2 separate regions of the Homo sapiens genome follow, and region 1 is linked to region 2. The links are contacts of gene promoters, found by promoter capture Hi-C in human tissues and cell types (Jung and others, 2019). All regions are on one chromosome and are shown on one strand. The core of a region is centred on a gene start or on the middle of the fragment in contact, and the rest is flanking DNA. Distances in the headings are between cores, read along the strand shown. Region 1 overlaps LINC02210-CRHR1 (LINC02210-CRHR1 readthrough). Region 2 holds the start of SPATA32 (spermatogenesis associated 32).

Region 1 (4,012 bases), core at 595-3,094, 470 kb before region 2:
TTGTGAGAGAGAGGAGGAAAAGGAGGGTGTGCTAGGCTCTTTTAACAACCAGCTCTCACAGGAATTAATTGAATGAGAACTCACTCACTCCAGAGAAGGCCATTAATCTATTCATGAGAGATCCACCTCTATGACCAAAACACCCATTAGGCCCCACCTCCAACATTGAGAATTAAATTTCAACATGAGATTTAGATGAGACAAACATCCAAACCATAGGAATAGCAATTTTGGAAAAAAAAAAGAATAAATTGGGAGGAATCAGTCCATCTCATATCAAGCTACAGTAATCACTGTATAGCTACAGTAAGACTGAATGTTATTGGCATACAAGATACAAGATAACTTACAAGACTGTATGTTATTGGCAGAGAGATATACATCAATGGAACAGAATGGAGAAACCAGAAATAGACCCACACAAATATGCCCAACTAATTTTTGACAAACGTACAAAACTAATTCAATGGAGGAAAATAGCCTTTTCAACAAATGGTGCTAAAAAAAAAAAAAGCCTCTAAGTCTTACGTACGCCTTATACTAAAATTAACTCAAAATGGATCATTAACTTAAATGTAGAACATAAAACTATAAAACTTCTGAAAAAACAGGAGGAAGTCTTCAGGATGTAGGTCTATGCAAAGAGTTCTTAGGTTCAACACCCAAAGCATCACCCATAAAAGGAAAAATTAATAAATTGGACTTCATCACAAAAGCTTCTGTTTTGTGAAAGGCCCATTAAAAAGCATTAAAAAGATGAAAAAAAGCTACATACTGGGAAAAATATTTGCAAACCATATATCCAACAAAGAACTAGTATGTAGAATATATAAAGAACACTCAAAACTCAGCAGTCAGAAAACGAACAATCCAATTAGAAAATAGGTAAGAGACATAAAGACATATTTCACCAAAGAAGACATCATATGGCAAATAGCACATAAAAAGATGCTCATTGTTCATCATTAAGGGAATGCAAGTTACAATCACAATGAGAATCACTATGTACCTATCAGGATGGCTAACATAAAACAGTAATAATACTAAATGCTGACAAGGATTCAGAGAAACTGAGTCACTCATACATTGCTGGTGGGAATGTAAAATGGTACAGGCACCGTGGAAAACAGTTTGGCAGTTTCTTTCAAAAACTAAACATACAACTACTGTACAACCCAGCAATTGTACTTCTGGGCATTTATCCCAGAGAAATGAAGACTTGTATATAAATGTTTATAGATGCTTTATTTATTTGTATTAGCCCCAGACTGAAAATGATCCACTTGTCCTTCAACACAGAAATGATTAAATAAACTGGGGTATATCCTACCATGATCTAATACTCAGTGACACTGTTAGGCTTTGTGTCCCCATCCAAATTTCATCTTAAATTGTAATCCCGAGGTATTGAGGAAGAGAACTGGTAGGAGGTGATTGGATCACAGGGACAGTTTCCCCTATGCTTCTCTCATGATAGTGAGTTCTCACGAGATCTAATGGTTTTATAAGACAGTTTTCCCTGCACTTGCTCACTGTCTCTCACCTGCTGCCGTGTAATATGTGCCTGCTCCCCCTTCTGCCAAGATTGTAAGTTTCCTGAGGCCTCCCCAGCCATGTGGAACTGTGAGTCAATTAAACCTCATTTGTTTATAAATTACCCAGTCTCGGGTAGTAGCTTTATAGCAGTGTGAGAATGGATTAATACAGTCAGAAAGAACTACTGATACACAAAACAACCTGGATGAATCTCCAGAGAATTATGCTGAGTGAGAAAAGCCAATCCCCCAAAGTTACATATGATTCCATTTATATAACATTCTGGAAATGACAACATTATGGAAATGGATAACAGATCAGTGGTTGCCATCAGTTAAGGAGAAGATAGGGATGGGAGGGAAGTAGATATGGCTATAAAAGGGCAACATGAAGATCCTCATGGTGATAGAAACGTTCTGTATCCTGACTGTGTTAACATCAATATCTTGGTTGTAATATTATAGTTTTGCAAGTTGCTATCATGGGAAACTGAGTAGAGGATTCCCCAATTACCTCAAAATTTAAAATTTTAGGTAAGAAAATTTAAACTTTGAAGACAGAAAAAAGATAAAACGCTGCTGCTTCTCCAAGATAAAATAAGAATGGCCATGGCTTCCCGACAATCACCTGGACTTACCTGAAACAGACTCATTGAATCAGGAGAATTGGCTTCCAGGTTCTACAGCCTCTCTTCCTCCCTCCAACACGAGTAAGCCCTCTGTAGTCTCTCCTCCTTTCCCCCACCAAAATGTAAAAAAGCTGATAAAGCACTAATACTAATCATAAATAATTGTTCAGACAGTGAGTGCATACTCACAAAGGGATGTGCATTTTAATGGGAACAAGTCATAGTAAGCTAAAAAATGAACCACCAATAGTGAAATTGCTGATACAGCAGGCAGAGGTAGGAAGACATTTAAGATGGCTGGAAAAGGAAGAACTTCCTTGAACTCTGAAAATCCATCAGGCCTGCAGGCTGGGTTGATTCATCAGGCCAGCTGTGCCCAATAGGTAGAGTGGAGAGATTTAAACACCAGGGTAGGGGACAGGAAATGGCAGAATGAAGATATCAGTAGTGTAGTGCTCCAGGATTGGATGGGAATGATTAGAAAGAAAGAGAATTGAGATTTGAAAGGTAAAAGATATTTATTCATTTGCCTAGGACGTTTCACCACTTTAAAAATTAATTAAATTTGTTAGAGATGACATCTCACTATGTTGCTGTATTAGTCTGTTTTCATACTGCTATAAAGAACTGCCCAAGACTGGGTAATTTATAAAGGAAAGAGGTTTAATTGACTCACGGTTCTGCACAGCTGGGGAAGCCTTGGCAAACTTACAATCATGGTGGAAGGTGAAGGAGAAGCAAGGCACCTTCTTCACAAGGCAGCAGGAAGGAGAAGTGCCAAGCGAAGTGGGAAGAGGCCCTTATAAAACCATCAGATCTTGTGAGAGCTCACTCACTATCACGAGAACAGCATGGGGGAATTGCCCCCATGATTCAATTATCTCCACCTGGTCTCTCCCTCGACATGTGGGGATTATGGAGATTATAATTCAAGATGAGATTTGGGTGGGGACACAAAGCCTAACCATATCAGTTGCCCGGGCCAGTCATGAACTTTCACCACTGTTTTCTGCAAAGCACTGTGCATTCCCATTCTAGTTAGGCGATCTAAATGTAAAGTGGCCATTTTGGAACAATTATTGGCCTGGGTGTGATCACCTGATCCAGCCCTGACCAATCATAGTACCTTTCTACCTCTGAGTTTCAATAATTGGTTGAGAAGGTGATGGGTAATTCAAGCCTAGCCAATTGGAGTCTTCTCCTATTGGTTGGTTGGTTGGTTGTAACTGGAATTGGAGTTTTGTCTACTGTGATGAAACTGAGAGTATTAGGCCTTGGACCAGCAGCACGGGAGAAGCTATCTAACTAAGCAGGGAGCTGACACCTAGAGAACCAGGCAGTAGGAGGGATGCCTGGTGGCCCCAGAGTCCCTGGTTTAAGTCATTCCTGAGGCTGGCTGCATTCTTGTCCAGCCAGTGGTTTGGATACTGGAGTCAATAAGTAATCCCCATACTCCCCTTTCCCAGAAGCCCGAGCAAAGCTGGCTCTGTACGCAGGATGAGGGGAGGCTTGTGTGTGTGTGTGCGCTGTGGGTTCCTGATCAGAAAGTTCTACCCCATCTGATGAGCCCTGGCAAAAAAGTCATCAGAGATGGTACTGAGGCTCTGAAAGCCTACGTGCTGGGGAGGAAGATCCCAAGGAAGCAATAAGGTAGGAACCATCTTTTCACTTATGGAGCACCTGAGCTGCACTGGATAGCACACTCCAGTGTAAATGTTATTAGTCCATTTTTCAGAGGAGAAAACTGAGGCTCACACAAGTAAAGTCAGTTGTTCGAGGTAACATGGTAATAAGAGGCAGGCTTGGTATGGGACCCAGTCATTTCTTACTTCCAAGCTAGTTTCTTTC
Region 2 (4,305 bases), core at 753-3,252:
TTTGGGTGTAGGGGAAAAGAATGCCTGACCCTGGGAAGGCTCCCTGGTAGAATACACCACACTTTTCAGGTTGTTGCAACACAGGTCCTGAGTTGACCTCTGGTTCAGCCAAGGACCAAAGAAGGTGTGTAAGTGAAGTGGTTCTCAGTCCCCAGACATGTGCCCCTTTGCTGCTGGCTACCACTCTTCCCCAGAGCAGCAGGCCCCGAGCCCCTTCAGGCCCAGCACTGCCCCAGACTCGCTGGCACTCAGTTCCCTCATCTGTAAAGGTGAAGGGTGATGCAGGATATGCCTGACAGGAACAGTCTGTGGATGGACATGATCAGTGCTAAGGAAAGCAGCAGAGAGAGACGCTCCGGCGCCCCAGCCCCACTATCAGTGTCCAGCGTGCTGGTTCCCCAGAGCACAGCTCAGCATCACACTGACACTCACCCTGCCCTGCCCCTGGCCAGAGGGTACTGCCGACGGCACTTTGCACTCTGATGACCTCAAAGCACTTTCATGGCTGCCCTCTGGCAGGGCAGGGCAGGGCAGTGACACTGTAGGAGCATAGCAAGCCAGGAGATGGGGTGAAGGGACACAGTCTTGAGCTGTCCACATGCATGTGACTCCTCAAACCTCTTCCAGATTTCTCTAAGAATAGCACCCCCTTCCCCATTGCCCCAGCTTAGCCTCTTCTCCCAGGGGAGCTACTCAGGACTCACGTAGCATTAAATCAGCTGTGAATCGTCAGGGGGTGTCTGCTAGCCTCAACCTCCTGGGGCAGGGGACGCCGAGACTCCGTGGGAGAAGCTCATTCCCACATCTTGCCAAGACAGCCTTTGTCCAGCTGTCCACATTGAGTCAGACTGCTCCCGGGGAGAGAGCCCCGGCCCCCAGCACATAAAGAACTGCAGCCTTGGTACTGCAGAGTCTGGGTTGTAGAGAACTCTTTGTAAGCAATAAAGTTTGGGGTGATGACAAATGTTTCCAGGCCATCGGTGTCCTCTCTCTTGCCTGCCGGCCTGCTGAACCTCACGACCCTAACAGCTGCCTCTCTTTGCCTTCTTGCTGAGATCTTTTCAAGTCCCCCTTGTTTTGGACAAGGACTGTTTCAGCCCTTGAGTGGGGCTGCTTTCCCACCACTCCTCCCAGTGGCTGCTTCTAGTCCCAACGCTGGGCTAGTCATTCAGACCAGTTAGGCAAGATACCTTGCCCGGTGGCATCAGGGAAGTCCCTCGCCAAAATATGCCAGGCTGAGGGGTGGAGGAGGAGGACAACAAAGCCTGCATGCTTTGTGCCACTGCCCAAGTTAGGCAGCCCCCTACCACCAGAAGGGAAATAGGGATGGGTTCTGGGCCCTGACCATCCAGGGATGCCGGATGCACACCACAGGCCCTCCACCCTCCCCTCCTGTCCTTGAGGCCTGGACTCTTAACCCTTTCCGCTGCCTCCTGAGCCCTGCATGGGGCCAGGGATGCCTTTGTGGGCTGAGTTCCTTGGTCATGGAGCTGGGGCACACGGGGTGCTGAGTTCCTTGGTCATGGAGCTGGGGCACACGGGGTGCTGAGTTCCTTGGTCATGGAGCTGGGGCACACGGGGTGCCTTATCGAATCTGGCTCCACACTCCCTGTGTGCACAAGTGTGTGTGCGCGCGGCTTGGGTTGGTTTAGCCGGTTCTTGGAAGGGCCCTGGGACCACGAAAAGGGCGGCAGCCCTGAGCCGCTGGCGTGCAGAGCGGGTGCAAGTCCTGTCCAGCACAGCCAGGCTTACCTGCCGCCTGCCTCTCGCTCTAGGCCCGCTGCGGAAGCGCGAGCCCCACCCCCGAGGTCTTCGGAGAGGAAGGAGTTCTGGCTTCGGGCCCGCAGCCTTCGGAGGACGCCTCACTCGGGCCGTCCCCCGTCCGCCCGCCCGAAACCTAAATGCGGCTCCCTGCCTGTGGGGTCGCGGCGGGGACGTCACAGAGGCGGCGACATCACAGGCACCGGCGCCTCTAATATTTCCAGCGCCCACCAGTCCCTCAGCCAAAGAGCACACTGGAGGCGGAGAGGCAGCATCCACCAGCCCGCTCCCCGCCTCCAGGACAGAGCCTCGGTCTGCATGGGGGTGACAGGTGGGAGCGGCCGAGCGCCCGGGGGCGAGGGTTGGGGCAGGCGGGGAAAGCGAAAGTGAGAGGGGGAGGGGCGCGAAGGGGGCGGTCAGGAATCCGCCCAGGGCCCGTTCCCCTGCTCCCAAACCCCCGGCACCTGAAAGGCAGGTCGACCCGCCGCCAAAGCCCACCCGGTGCCCCTGACTACGGCTCCCAGCCTCAGCCCCTGCGCGGTGCACACCCATGTGCTCTCACGGACACGCATGCGCGCCTTGGAGTAGGGACTGCAGAGTCAGTGGTTCTTGAAGGGGTTCTGAGACCACAGAAGGAGCAATGGCCTTGTGCACAGGAAACGACTCATGAATTATCCTGAACTGCAGATCCAAAAAATCACATCCAGTTGTCCCTCCTTGATGCTTGAGGCTTTGCAGGGAGGAGCGGCAGTCTTCAGCACATTTTTACGGAGCGCTTCGTTGATGCCTTGTACTCTTCTCTGAACCAATGAGCAAAGATGTTTGCCCCCAGTGCCCTGTGTCTCCCCTTCCCATAGGGGCGTCAGATCCCCCACTGAAATGGTGGCTTTCTTTTGGGGATCCTCTCTCCCAGAAGGGCATGGGCCAGCATTAAAAACGGTCAAAAATTAGGTGGGCATGATGGCTCAACGCCTGCAATCCCAACACTTCGGGAGGCAGAGGTGGGAGGATCACATGAGGCCAGGAGTTCAAGATCAGCCTAGGCAACATAGCGAGACTTTGTCCTCTACAGGAAATGTTTAAAATTAGACAGGTGTGGCGGCATGAGCCTGTAGTCCCAGCTACTTGGGAGGCTGAGCTGGGAGGCTCACTGGAGCCCAGGAGTTGCAGTGAGCTATGATGCTGCCACTCCAGCCTGGGCCACAGAGCAAGACCCTGTCAAAAAAAAAAAAAAAAAAACCAGAGGTCGGGTGCAGTGGCTCACGCCTGTAAGGTAAAACGTAGATTAGACAGCCAGGTCTGTCATGGAGAGGATTACACTGATTATTTGAATTGGGCTTTCAGGCATGAGTAGGACTTTGCCAGAAGAAGGCTTTCCAGGTATAAGAAATAGCATTTGCAAAGGCACTGGGTGCAGAAAGGCCTGCGGTACTCTGGGGGTAGCTTCGGCTTAGGGTGAGGGACAGGAAGCTGGATGCCAAGAGATGAAAAATGAAGGTAGAGATCAGACCAAGAGGCCACATGGAGTCTGGGGGTAACCGGAGACAAGTGAGATGTAGCAGGCTCACTCTGAGGTCATTGAAAATCCAGGTTGGAGGGGGACATAGTTGCAGTGGTCCCACTGGAAGACTAAAGAGATTTAAGACAGTGCAGTGAGTAGCATCCCAGAGTTTGGAGCCAGCCAGACCTGCCTTTGGGTCGTGTGCTGCTCTTAATAGCTGCATGACCTCATACACGTTTCCTCATCTGTGAGAGGAGAGCCGTGGCCAACTGGGCATAGGGTAGGTATGAAGACTGAATGTGCAAAGCACTCAGCACCAAGTGCCAAAGGGTAGGAAGTCATGGGTGTGTGCTGGCTCTGGTACTGGGAGATGAGGACAGCATCAGGGGTAGGAGGGCAGTAGCTGCGGAGGGAGGAGGAGTCACAAATGACCCAGGTTTCTCATTTGGGTGAAAGGATGAAGGATGAATAGGGCGAGGAGAGTGGGGTATGGAGAGATGACAGACTAGAAAGGGAGACAGGGGTCAGACAGGCAGAACCGTGGCAGCCACACTTAAGAGTCTGGACATACAAGATATGAATTTGAGGTAAGAAATTAGGCCAGGCATGGTGGCTCACGCCTGTAATCCCAACACTCTGGGAGGCCAAGATGGGAAGATCGCTTGAGCTCAGGAGTTTGAGACCAGCCTGGGCAACATACTGAGACCTCATCTCCTTTTTTTTTTTTTTTTGAGACAGAGTCTTGCTCTGTCACCCAGGCTGGAGTGCAATGGCACCATCTCGGCTCACTGCAACGTCTGCCTCCCGGGCCGAAGCCATCCTCCCTATCAAAACCTAACAAAGACATTACAAGAAAAGAAAATTATACACCGATATCCCTCATGAATATGCATGTGAAAATTCTGAAAAAAAGCCAATCAGATTCAACAACATAGAAAAAGGGTAATATATCACAACCAAATGAGGTTTATCCCAGTAACGCAAGGCTGATTTAACATTTTAAAAAATAAATTTATAGCTGGGCATGGTAGCTCACACCTATA

The links. Contacts are between HindIII fragments. The study calls those that stand out against the background at their distance.
Region 1: a fragment that was not itself captured here is called in contact with the fragment with the promoter of SPATA32 in region 2 in 1 of the 25 tissues and cell types used here (dorsolateral prefrontal cortex).

The regions. Positions count from the first base shown.
Region 1 is chr17:45,734,086-45,738,097 of GRCh38, reverse strand. All of the region lies in intron 3 of LINC02210-CRHR1 (LINC02210-CRHR1 readthrough), which reads right to left. It overlaps LOC107985028 (a long non-coding RNA gene), which reads left to right and starts at 3,419. Exons shown (of 2, transcript XR_001752915.2): 1 at 3,419-3,814. The HindIII fragment of the contact is 5,736 bases long and covers 1-4,012 here.
Region 2 is chr17:45,259,791-45,264,095 of GRCh38, reverse strand. It overlaps SPATA32 (spermatogenesis associated 32), which reads left to right and starts at 2,002. Exons shown (of 5, transcript NM_152343.3): 1 at 2,002-2,092. The coding sequence starts at 2,080. It overlaps MAP3K14 (mitogen-activated protein kinase kinase kinase 14), which reads left to right. Exons shown (of 16, transcript NM_003954.5): 16 at 1-977. All of the region lies in intron 2 of MAP3K14-AS1 (MAP3K14 antisense RNA 1), which reads right to left. RefSeq lists enhancers at 961-1,564, 1,999-2,088, 1,565-2,170 and silencers at 2,119-2,168, 2,239-2,358. The HindIII fragment of the contact is 11,872 bases long and covers 1-4,305 here.